2 separate regions of the Homo sapiens genome follow, and region 1 is linked to region 2. Evidence: promoter capture Hi-C in 16 types of primary human blood cells and fetal thymus (Javierre and others, 2016). All regions are on one chromosome and are shown on one strand. The core of a region is centred on a gene start or on the middle of the fragment in contact, and the rest is flanking DNA. Distances in the headings are between cores, read along the strand shown.

What was found. The method cuts DNA at HindIII sites, captures the fragments that hold promoters and counts their contacts. A CHiCAGO score of 5 or more calls a contact.
Region 1: the fragment with the promoter of COX7B here is called in contact with the fragment with the promoter of MAGEE1 in region 2 in 2 of 17 cell types (fetal thymus and non-activated CD4 T cells); the score reaches 7.2 in fetal thymus.

What each region holds. Positions count from the first base shown.
Region 1 is chrX:77,897,815-77,904,424 of GRCh38, reverse strand. COX7B (cytochrome c oxidase subunit 7B) reads right to left here and starts at 4,957. Exons shown (of 3, transcript NM_001866.3): 1 at 4,832-4,957; 2 at 1,658-1,782. The coding sequence starts at 4,871. RefSeq lists an enhancer at 4,754-5,003. The HindIII fragment of the contact is 2,290 bases long and covers 2,953-5,242 here.
Region 2 is chrX:76,425,947-76,432,476 of GRCh38, reverse strand. MAGEE1 (MAGE family member E1) reads right to left here and starts at 4,767. Exons shown (of 1, transcript NM_020932.3): 1 at 1,135-4,767. The coding sequence starts at 4,546. The coding sequence ends at 1,673. RefSeq lists enhancers at 3,910-4,039, 4,510-4,719. The HindIII fragment of the contact is 4,624 bases long and covers 2,021-6,530 here.

The DNA.
Region 1 (6,610 bases), core at 3,708-6,207, 1.5 Mb before region 2:
CCCGCCAGGGCCTCCCAAAGTGCTAGGACTACAGGCGTGAGCCACCATGCCCAGCCTAGGCACACATCTTAATATTTGATTTCAGGAAGATCAAAACAAAAACTAAAAAGGCCTATTTATTTAAATAAAGTTTATTACATTAAGGATTAATTTGTATCTTTTTAAACCAACTTATGCATTTATTAAGACTTCGGGCCGGGCGCAGTGGCTCACGCTTGTAATCCCAGCACTTTGGGAGGCCGAGGTGGGTGGATCACGAGGTCAGGAGATCGAGACCATCCTGGCTAACACGGTGAAACCCCATCTCTACTAAAAATACAAAAAATTAGCCGGGCATGGTGGTGGGCACCTGTAGTCCCAGCTACTCGGAAGGCTGAGGCAGGAGGATGGCGTGAACCCGGGAGGCGGAGTTTGCAGTGAGCAGAGATCGCGCCACTGCACTCCAGCCTGGGCGACAGAGCAAGATTCCATCTCAAAAAAAAAAAAAACAAAAAACAAAACAAAAAAAAAAAACACAGACTTCAGGACTCCTACTTTTAGCCAGTAAGTAACAGTGACTGAAAGATAGATTGTTAAATGTAAGATGTAAAGAAACTAAAATATAAAAAGATACATTACATCTCATCTGTCACGAATACTGTGCTAAGTTCTGAGTGTAAAATTTTAAAAGAAAAATTGTTAAGTGAAGTTATGTCCAGGAAGGCGATCCAAGACAGTAAAAATCCTGGAAACCATGAACAAAAAAATTACTGATAGAACTAAGGATGTTTAATTTGAAAAAGAAAATTGAGGAGATATGATAGCAATTTTCTATTATCTGATGGCTGTTATATGGAAGTGGGTCAGAATTTCTGTGCTTCAATGAACAATGGGTAGCATAGGAAAAAGGCAGATTTTAACTCACCATATGATCCTTTTAACAGCTACACAAGGCTGGGCACAGTGGCTCACACCTGTAATCCTAGCACTTTGGGAAACCAAGGCGGGCGGATCACCTGAGGTCAGGAGTTCAAGACCAGCCTAACTAACATGGTGAAACCCCGTCTCTACTAAAAATACAAAAATCTGCCAGGCGTACTGGAGGGCGCCTGTAATCCCGCTACCTGGGAGGCTGAGACAGGAGAATCACTTGAACCCAGGAGGCAGAGGTTGCAGTGAGCCGAGATCGCGCCACTGCACTCCAGCCTGGGCAACAGAGCAAGACTCCGTCTCAAAAAAAAAAAAAAAAAAAAATAGCCAGGCCTGGTGGCACACACCTGTGGTCCCAGCTACTTGGGAGCCTGAGGCAGAAGAAGTGCTTGAACCCAGGAGGCAGAGGTTGCAGTGAGCCAAGATCGCACCACTGCACTCCAGCCTGGGGGACACAGCAAGACTTCTTCTTAAAAAAAAAAAAAAACAAAAACAAAAAAAACAGCTACACAAGATGGAAAGGGCTGCCTTGTGATCCAGTAAGCAATTTATTACTGGGAATGTTAAGAACAGAAGATGGATGAATGCTGGGGGGAAAAAATCCCCTGCACTGTGTGGGTAATTAGATTACACAATCTCTCAAGTCCCTCCTAACTAGATATGTACACTACTATGTTAAGACACTTTGAATGCATAGACTGAGAATGAAAAACATCTGAAACAGAAATTATTAATCAATAGTACTTACATATGTCCATGTAACAATACAGAAAGTGGCTCCACTAGCTAATACAGCATTACCGTATTTGTCATGAAAATCAGGTGTACGTTTCTGGTGGCTCTGCCTTGCCATTGTTTGCTGAATGCTTCGAACTTACAGGAAAACGAAAAAAGAATACAGAAGCATATTATCAATTGTCAGGTAAAGAAAACATATGTGATTGATACTGCCAATCAGGAAAGCCAAGGAAGTTAATTTTACAGTATTATGTAGTTCAATAAAATGTTAAAACATATTGTAGCTATTAAAGCAGTGTACTTTGAAATGCAACAAAAATAAGATGAATTGACAGATGGACAAATACATGATAAAACAAATAGCAAAATGTTAACTGTAGAATCTTTGTGGTGGGTATATGGGTGTTCATACGATTCTTCCAACTCTTCAGTATGTCTGAGAGTTTTCATAATAGTGTTGGGGGAAAAAAGCAAAGAATGAATGATGTCAGTAACATTCTCTACAAAGTGGTATTTGCATAACCCCTGAAATTTTGGCTCCCATTGATTAATTTGAATACTTATGACTTAAATTTTCATTAAAGTTTACTCAATAGAGCCCAACAACTTACAACATACAAGGGCAAATGAACTCAAATGAACTTCAAATTAAAGCACACTAAATGCTTATGACTGTAAAATTACTACAGTAACAAAAAAACTCGCCACAACTAGAGTAATCTTGATTTTTAAAAAATTAATGGGCCAGGCACAGTGGCTCACATCTGTAATCCCAATACTTTCGGAGGCCAAGGTAGGAGGATCGCTTGAGGCCAGGAGTTTCAGACCAGTCTGTGAAACATAGTGAGACCCTGTCTCTACAAAAAAATTGAAAATTAAAAATTAGCCGGGCATGGTGGTGCATGCACACCTGTAGTCCCAGCTACTCAGGAGGCTGTGGCCGGACGATCACTTGAGTCCAGGAGTTAGAGGATGCAGTGAGCTATGATCACACCACTACACTCCAGCCTGGGTAACAGAGCAATTCTCTGTCCCTAAAAATAAAAAATGAGAAATGGGGTATATAAAAAAGTATAAGACAGAGATCCTGTCCTCAAGTAACTTCCAGTCTAGAGGATTACACATGTAGATAAAAATCAGTATCGTACAAGGAAGCAGAATTAGCTAAGGACTTAGTTTTTGAGCAGAATGATAAAGTTTGCTGTTAGTATTATACCAGTAGAAAGAGAAGAACAAAAGTTTTCAAACGGCCCCTGGAAGAACTAAAAAGGAGGGCTTGGGAAACAGCCGAGACTGGAAAAAGCTTGTTTCTAGCTGTTTTTTTTTTTCTTCCTGTCCAATTTAAGGGGCAGGTTCTTATCGTTTTAAAGAGCCTCCAAAGGTACTTACATATATAATGAAAAGCTAGGGAGCCTGAGGCAGGAGAATCACTTGAACCTAGGAGACGGAGATTGCAGTGAACCAAGATTGAGCCACTGCACTCCAGCCTGGGCAACAAGAGCGAAACTTTGTCTCAAAAAAAAAAAAAAGAAACTGCAATGTTGCCCATTCACTAGCAATGAATATTTCTACATGGTACAATGGGTTACTTCATGATAGTTATTAGACCATTATCAGATCTTCTAACTGTCTTACATAGCTTTCCCTTTTCATCTTTTAGTCACACCGGGATAGGCAAATTTACAAATATTTCATAATATATTCTGCTCCAGAAAAGATAAAAAGTGGGCATGTGAATTCCACGCTGAAAAAAAAACAAAAAACCTTTCCTGAGGTACAAGGTGGCCCTATTTGCTCAAAGAGCAAAGAAATTAAGACTACCAAAAAATTCTGCAACATCTCATAACTTCAACACACTCATGTAACTCTGGTGGATTTCATCAGACCTCTCCTCTGTGACAACTGTTTAATTACCACACATTGGTGATCTCATATAATCCTCAACAACCCCATGAAGTAGGCATTATTTACAAATTACTTATTTTACAAAGAAGGAAACTGAGGTTGAGAGAGGCTAAATCATATGCCCAAAGTAAAAGAGATAATAAATGCTACTTTGGGAATATGAAAATAGTCCAGCTAATATTTTGTGGTTATTTTCAAAGTTGCTTAAGAGTTTAGGACACAATCTAATAATATCCTCCAATGATTCTATTAAGTGAAAATCAAAAGATGGCTAAACAAACTAAATAGTAATTACGGGTCACCTTCATTGTGTAACAACTGCCCACGTTACTCAAGGTCACCTTCGGTGCAAATCAAGTATGAAAATTAATTTGTTCTCCTCAATCTATTGCATTTTCTCTACATAATGCTGGTCTCAAAACTCCCTGTACCTGCCCAACCTTTGGATAAGAAAAAAATGACCACGATTGCCTTCAGGACAGCTAACATTGTTTTGTTTTTGTTTTCGAGACGGAGTCCCGCTCTTGTTGCCCAGGCTGGAGTGCAGTAGCAGTCTTGGCTCACTGCAACCTCCGCCTCCCGGGTACAAGCGATTCTCTTGCCTCAGCCTCCCAAGTAGCTGGGATTACAGGCGCCCACCACCACGCCCGGCTAATTTTTGTATTTTTAGTAGGGACGGCGTTTCACTATGTTGGCCAGGCTGGTCTCGAACTCCTGACCTCAGGGGATCCGCCCGCCTTGGCCTCCCAAAGTGCTGGGATTACAAGTGTGAGCCACCGCGCCTGGCCAGCTAACATTGTTAATCCACAAATAACTTCAAAGCTGCATCGATACCATTTGGGTTGTTTCCCTGCAATTAAACCAGGTGAAGAGCTAGATTTACAGTTTCCGTCTATTACAGTAATAGGAATTGGAGAAGATATTTTTCTATACAGGGTTAGGAGTAAACATATCCCCAAAGCTAAAATGTAGGACATCACTTAAGGAACGAGGTGTCTACCAAGAATGTCCTTCCCTGAAATCAAAGGTTACTGAAGAATTAAAAAGCAGGGCTAGACTATCACTCCGATAACAGAAAGAGAGCTGGAAACCGAAACAGAAATACTGGGTGATAAAGCCAATGCTAAGGACATCATCCCAATGACTTGGGACGAGATGGGAGACAGACAGCATTCAAGATTAGAAGGCCGAGATGTTCGTAAAAGGAAAGCACACGAGAGGCCGCGAGGACACATTGATATAAGGTTGTTGTAAATGATTTGTCATAATTTTTGCTCACCTTGGAGACGATTTAGTGCGCTTTTGACCAAGGGAAACATCGTGAAGGTGAAGCTAGAACTGCGGCAATACAGCTGCTGCTTTGGTGCCAATTCGCTTCAGGTACCCTTGAAGTGAGCTGAAAAACAAAATGGCTTTCAGCCGGGATCCGTAATGAGATTTGACGAAATCTCGCGATACCTGTAAAACCTATAGTAATTGCAATCCCTTTTCCCGCGAGGAAAAATAAAGGCCTTTTGGGAAATGTAGTTTCCGGCTTTATAAAATGACGTATGGTGGGTGGTATCTAATGAAGAATGAAAGAACTCCTTGAAGCCAGGTTTAGAGCTCTATAGAGGGCAGCCGAGAGACAGATCTTCGACCGAATCGTCTAAGGAACTAGCTTCAAAATGGCGTTCAAGTTCCACAAGCTTCGGTTTAGTATCTCCACACTAGCTCTTTCTTCTTTCTGTTCCCCCAAAACTTCCTTTACTTCTCTCATTTTTTTTGTCTGCTATTACTACTATACTAATTGGCTTAGCTTTTAGTTTTCAAATAACGTCAAGTTTAGAGAAAAGTTGCAAGAACAGTAAAAACTTCTGTAATATGTAGATAAATACGTGATAAAATAACTTTGGAAAGCTATTGGCCGGGCGCGGTGGCTCACGCCTGTAATCCCAGCACTTTGAGAGGCCAAGGTGGGCGGATCACGAGGTCGGAGTTCGAGACCAGCCTGGCCAAGATGGTGAAACCCCGTCTCTACTAAAAATACAAAAATTAGCCGGCGTGGTGGCGCGCGCCTGTCATCCCAGCTACTCAGGAGGCTGAGGCAGAATAATCACTTGAACCCGGGAGGCGGAGGTTGCAGTGAGCCGAGAACGTGCCACTGGACTCCAGCCTGGGCGACAGAGCGAGACTACGTCTCAAAAAGAAAGAAAGAAAAGAAAGCTGTTAGGCCTGGCGCGGTGGCTCACGCCTGTAATCCCAGCACTTTGGGAGGCCGAGGTGGGCGGATCACGAGGTCAGGAGATCGAGACCATCCTGGCCAACATGGTGAAACCCCATCTCTACTAAAAATACCAACAATTAGCTGGGCGTGGTGGCATGTGCCTGTAATCCCAGCTACTCTGTAGACTGAGGCGGCAGAATCGCTTGAACCAGGGAGTCGGAGGTTGCAGTGAGCCAAGATACCACCACTGCACTCCAGCCTGGTGACAGAGCAAGACTCCGTCTCAAAAAAAAAAAAGAAAAGAAAAGAAAAGAAAAAAAAGAAAGAAAAGAAATGGCAACACGGCAAAACCCCGTCTCTACTAATATACAAAAAATTAGCTGGGCATGGTGGCACATGCTTCTAATCCCAGCTACTCGGGAGGCTGAGGCATGAGACTTGCTTGAACCGGGGAGGCGGAGGTTACAGTGAGCCAAGATCGCACCACTGCACTCTAGCCTGAGACCTGTCCCAAAACAAAAAAAATAAAATACATACAGTTCAGTGGCATTAATGGCATTCACATTGTTGTGCAACTATCACCATTATTCATCTCTAAGACTTTTTCATCGTGTAAAACTAAATGCTTTGATTATACATTTTGACTATTGAAAATATTAACATTATTCCAAAAGTCAAAACTAAACAGACTAGTGTACTTAGAGAAGTGTCATTCCCTCCCCTAACTGTTGCATTCCATTTCCACCAATTCCTATAGGTAACCGATTTCATTACTTTCTGGTTTATCTTGTGTGTTTCCTTTTGCAAAAATAGGCAAATACCTGTATGTTTTCTTATTTCTCTATTTTATAC
Region 2 (6,530 bases), core at 3,518-6,017:
TCAAAAATATATGTTCTTCCTCTCTACTGGGCCCATTCCTATATGTTCTTCCCTGTAGAAGGAGTACACTTCCCAGCTCATTGACATCAAGCTTGCCCATGTGACTTGCTTTTGCCAATGGATTATGACTACAATATGCCATATATGAGCATAGGCTTTGAAAACTATCACATGGTTCCACTATGGCTCTTTTACTTCTGCCACAAGAACAGGTGTCCCATATATGATTTACTCCTTTAGCCTGGTTACCTGAAGGAAGACAATATAAACAGAATCACAGACAGCCCATGAAAGGGATGTAAAATGAGCCCAAAATTTTGTTGTTGTAAGCCTCTGAGATTTGGGTATTTTTTAAAAACCCACAGCATAACTTAGAGAAAGCTGGCTCATGTATCTTATTGAAACCATTGATGACACAATATATCCTGCTCTCTGGCCTTACATCTTTGACTTTTTTTCCTACCAGCACACATAAAGACTGAAATCCAGCCTTGAATCAGTTTAATTCATGATTGTATTAGGGACCCCATCTTGGCTGGGCACGGTGGCTCACGCCTGTAATCTCAGCACTTTGGGAGGCTGAGGTGGACAGATCACGAGGTCAGGAGTTTGAGACCAGCCTGGCCAAAATAGTGAAACCCCGTCTCTACTAAAAATACAAAAATTAGCTGGGTGTGATGGCACTTGCCTGTAGTCCCAGCTACTCTGGAGGCTGAGGCAGGAGAATTTCTTGAACCCAGGAGGCAGAGGTTGCAGTGAGCCGAGATCATGCCACTGCACTCTAGCCTGGGCAACAGAGCGAGACTCTGTCTCAAAAAAAAAAAAAAAAAAAAAGACCCCATCTTGTCCCCACCCCACATACCCAACAGCTTCCTTAAGGACCACCCTGAACACCCCAGGAATTGGTCAGTTGTGCCTCTTTTTAACTACCATAGCACTCTCTATTTTTCTATTGTAGCACATAGTACACCATAATAAATTGGTGATTTAAATGACCTCCCCCTGTACCCTATCCAGCCTCTGAATTCTTGGGCAGGTACTATATCTTGTAAACTTTTATACTTCTATAACTAGGGCACACCACTGTGCTCACTGTATGAAAGCAGTTGAATAAGTCAGTGTATTAGCATTATGTTTCATTTATTAATCTTTTATTTTTCATTACATTTTAGTACAGCAAAGCAAATACAGGTAAACATCAGTATTCTTCATACAATAGCAGACAGAAAGGGAAGCCAGCCACAATTTAGAGTGCCTTTTCAGTTGTTGTTATATTTGTTTGTTAGTTTATCACTTTAAGCTAGATTATTTTACTGGCGAATTTTTTTCAAGCTTTCAAGGAAAAGCCTATATCTATAGCTATATGCTATATTCTTTTCTAGATAATGCAACAAGATGGAAAGATTTCCAAAACATTTTATAGAGCTATCAAAACTCATACCAAAATACAACAGAGACAGCAAGTGGTCAATCACATTTACCCAATCAGACAATATATTAAAACAGTTGAAACATTTCCAGACACCACACCAGAACTAAATATGAAAAGACATAAATATAACTGGAACACAAATACCAAATACAATATGTACCCACCCCCACCCCCCAATACATGAGAACTGAGGCTCAAAGGCCCCTCCTTGCAAGGCCCCTCTGACTGCCATGCATTCCTCTACCTGAAGTTGTGAACAAAGATTTGCCTGTGCCCAACATCAGCTCTATTGGCCTCATCTTCCATTGCCTCCCTGTACTGCTGTGGCCAGTCCTGTGGTTCCTTTCTGTGGATTCTGGCCACATATCGCAAGGCTTTCATCTTAGAGGTTTCCAAACGGGCTCTAGGACCCCATACAAACTCATATTGCACTGGATCACTGTCAGGAACCCGTAAACTGTCTATATAGCGCTGACTCAAGTATCTGCAGGTAATCACATGCTTTCTCCCAGCTTGAACCCCTAAGCCCCGCAGAAAGGCCCAGACTGCAGACTCCCTGGCATGGTTGCCCATAATAAAGATGAAGCTTAGGACCTGCATCAAAAAGTTGTTGCCAGGCCTGTTTGGACTGTCTACGATCTCCTCAGTTTCTTCCATCTCCCTTCGGTTGTACAGAGTATAGGAGTGATTCCTGGGATCAAGTACCACTAGTTCTGTCCCATAGACATGGTTCAGGGTGCGGGCAGCACGATTCAGGAGGTCAGGGAACACTTTGCTGCACTCTCGGCCAATGTAGTACAGAATTCCTTTCTTTGGTATAGGCAGCTTAGTTGAATCCATAAGCAGAAATAACTGCACCAGCTTCCTTGCCTTGCTCTCCAATCTTGACTCAGGCCATGAATGTGGGGCATATTTTGAGGAATAGCTGGAAACCTCTGAATCAGGGGATGGTACCTCTGCAGCAGCTTCCTCAAAAAAGGGCCTCCTAAAGTGAGGGAGAGCCTGCCAACCCTCAGCAAAGGCTCTGGCAGCATCTTCTTCCAGAGCTTCGTTGTATTTCTCTGGCCAATCCATAGGATCTTTGTTATATATTTTCGCCATGAACTTCAGAATTTTCATCTTGGTGGTTTCTAGGTGGGATCTTGGGCCCCAGAAAAACTCATACTCCACTGGTTTACAGTCAGTTACTGGCCTGTAGTCTAAGTAACGCTGCCATACAAACTCCACAGACAGAAGTCTCTTTGGGTTCCCAAAAATGGAAAGCCTCCTTTCCCGCTGCACCCCCATCCTCCAGAGCATTTCCCAAATCTCAGCCTCCTTGGCTTGGTTGCCATTCAGGAATATTTGGCCTAGAATCATCATCAGGAGGCCCATCTTTGGCCCATTTGGGCTCTCTTCTAACCCTTCAAAGGGCACAGGTCCCAGTTTGTTTAACAGAATGTAGGTGTGTGCCTCAGGGTCAAGTTCTCTCAATTCAAACCTAAAAATGCACTCCAGGTGGGCTGCTGCTCGCCTGAGTATCTCAGGAAACTGGTTGCGATATTCTTTAACAATATATTCCCGCATTTCAGACTCCCGGATAGGGTACTTGCTCTGATCCTTCACCAGCAGGAACTGCAACAGCTCAGCTACGTTCTGTTCCATAGGGTCTTGGGGCTTCAGGGTAATTGCAACCCGGGAAGTATTGAGGCCCATAATACTAATGGAGTTGGGGCTCTCACAGTCTCTCAGGACCTCGAATTCTATAGGGCCTTCTGCACCCTTAGGACCCTCAGAATCTGAGTCCACGGAGGCCTTGGTTACCCTAGGGCTTGGCAAAACAAGGGAACACTTGGAGGGGTTCCGGTCCACAGAAGCACTAGAGCTAAACAATGTGCTCGGGCCCTCACCAGGGTTAGGCAGCACGGAGCTTCCCGGTCCGTCAGGGGCGGTGGGCTGCACTAAGGTGCTTGCGCCCTCACCAGGAGTGGGCGGCACGGAGGTGTCCGATCCATCAGAGGCGGTGGGCGGCACAGAGGTGCTCAGTCCCTCACCGGGGATTGGCAGTACGGAAGTGCTTGGTCCCTCACCGGGAGTGGGCGGCACGGAGGTGCTCAACTCCTCAGTGGCGGTGGGCGGCACGGAGGTGCTCAGTCCCCCACCAGGGGTGGGCGGCACGGAGGTGCTCGATCCCTCACCAGCAGTGGGCTGCACGGAGGTGCTCAGGCCCTCGGTGGCGGTGGGGGGCACGGAGGTGCTTGATCCCTTACCGCGGGTGGGCACCAAGGAGATGCTTTGTCCGTCAGAGGCGGCGGGCAGCACGGAGGTGCTCGGTCCCTCACCAGGAGTGGCCGGCACGGAGGTGCTCGGTCCCTCATCACGGGTGGGTGGCACGGGGGTGCTTAGGCCCTCAGTGGCGGTGGGCGGCACGGAGGTGCTCGGTCCCTCATCAGGAGTGGCCTGCACGGAGGTGCTCAGGCCCTCAGTGGCGGCGAGCGGCACGGAGGTGCCTGGTCCCTCACCAGGTGTAGGCAGCACGGAGGTGCTTGGTCCCTCATCAGGGGTGGGCACCACGGAGGTGCTTGGTCCCTCATAGGCTGTGGGCGGCACGGAGGTGCTCGTTCCCTCACCAGGGGTGGGCGGCAGGGAGGTGCTCGGTACCTCAGAGGCGGTGGGCGGCACGGAGGTGCTAGGTTCCTCAGAGGAAGTGGGCGGCCTGGAGGTGTTCCGGCCCTCAGAGGCGGCAAGCGTCACAGAGGTGCACAGCCCCTTAGAGATGGTGGGAGGCCCGGAGGTGCTTAGGCCCTCACTGGGGGTGGGCAGCACGGAGGTGCCAGGTCCCTCAGAGATGGTGGGCTGCCCGGAGGCGCTTGAGGCCTCAGAGATGGTGGGCGGCACAAAGGTGCTTGGGCCCTCAGCGGAGGTGGGCAGAACGGAGGTGCTTGGGCCCTCAGAGGCGCAGAGGCCCTGGAGGATCTGGGAATCGCTGGGACCCTGGGGGACGTCTGAGCCTGGCACATCAGCGGGGAGACCGGGGGCATTAGGGGCCTGCATTTCGCCCCAGCTGCTGTTGTGCGCAGTAGCCTTTGCAACGCGGCGGCGGCGGCGGCGCGAATTCTGGCTTACCAGAGACATGGTCCTGCCCACCGGCGTTGGCGTGTAGGAGCAGACACCGACAGGCCCGCGATCTGGCAGAGAGGACGGGAGGTGTGTAGGTGCCTCGGCACAAAACTGCCGCTAGCGGTAATGATGTTGCTGCTGCTGCCAGAACCAAAGTTCCAAGCAACTGCTGAAGCTGAAATTAGAGGTGGTGAAAAAGGCAGGCACTGGCCAGCAGTGAATGCTAGTCTCACTGTACTCTGCTTCTCACACCCCGCCCTCTGCCGCAGTCCGCGCAGGCGCAGACTGGCTCTGCGGCAAGGCGAAATCGCCCCGCCCCGCCCCTCCCCTGGGCCTGAGAAAGTGGATGCGGTGGTTCTGCACCAAAGGAGAGCACTAGCAGAAGGGAAACTTTGGTAGGGTGAAGCAAGGAGCTTAGAGTAGATGCATTAGGGAGTAAAAATGGAAATAATAATAAATACTTCTCAGATTTAGGGTACGATTGGAGGGCTTCTACACAGAGTGCCAGGCACTTAATAGATTCTCAAAATTGGTAAATATCATTGAGATTTGCAGTTTTCCCGAAGCTGTTTCAAAGAAAATGTGCATTGTCTCTGGAAGGGTAGAACCCCCATCCCTGACCATGTCTCTTCTATCACTTTCTCCATTTATGTGTCTAACTCCTCCCCTAATGTTGTGAGCTAGAAAGAACTCTTTCCTAGAGGGTCTGAATGCCTGAAATTTAGTACCAATTAGGGAGCTTCGAACACGCTTGAAAAGCCCAACATTCCCAGCCCAAACTTTCCCAGTCACCCAGGCTTTAGTGGGAAAGCCACTAAAACTCTTGAAAATTTGTTTAATTCTTTCACTCCACAATCACCTGCTCATTTAATAGAGCTTTTGTGAAAGTCAGTTGAGATACCGAGTGTTAAGGGATGTGTTACCTGCTCTGTTTTGCTCTATTACTCTAGCACTTTTGAGCAGATCCAACCCTGATCCCTTTATTCATTCACTCAACAAACACTGGTCATCTATCCCGAAGTTACAGTTAATCTCTTTGTCATCAAGGAGCACCCGATGTAAAAATGGGAGTCAGAGAAAAAGTAAAGCTAAATTTTCTAGAAGTTTGTAAAGAATGCAGGGGATGGCAGGGTCAGTTCTACCTGTAGATGCAGAAAAGGCTTCATAAAAGAGGAGATGTTTAAAAAGATGAGTGGGTAGATATTTACCAAAAGGACAAGGATGAGAAAATCATTCCAACTGAGAGTAGCACGGCAGCAGTGAGTAAGAAAGAAAACACTGAAGAGGACGGGCAGGCTGTTTTTAGAAGTAGGGGAGAGAGAGAGAGGAAGAGAGATAGAGGGAAAACACTAACTTTCTGACACTCACACAACCACTACAATTCAGCTTACCACTATTGACCCTTTATTGATATGTTTATATCTTGCTGCAAACATTTATTATATGTTGTCTTTCTTTATATCTTCTCAAAAATCTGGGAGTATACTTTTGTCTTTTTTTCTTTTTTTTTATACTTTAAGTTTTGGGGTACATGTGCAGAATGTGCAGATTTGTTACCTAGGTATACACGTGCCATGGTGGTTTGCTGCACCCATCAACCCATCATCTACATTAGGTATTTCTCCTAATGCTATCCCTCCCCTATCTCCCCACCTCTTGACAGGCCCTGGTGTGTGATGTTCCCCTCCCTGTGTCCATGTGTTGTAATTGTTCAATTCCCACTTATGAGTGAGAACGTGTGGTGTTTGGTTTCCTGTTCTTGTGTTAATTTTCTGAGAATGATGGTTTCCAGCTTCATCCATGCCCCTGCAAAGGACATGAACTCATCCTTTTTTATTGCATAGTATTCCATGGTGTATATGTGCCATGTTTTCTTTATCCAGTCTGTCATTGATGGGCATTTGGGTTGGTTCCAATACTTTTTTTTAATACGTCTTTAGGAAAGGGAAAATAACTGGCTACAGTCACAATGTGTCACCATCTCTGTCTCCAATTGGAG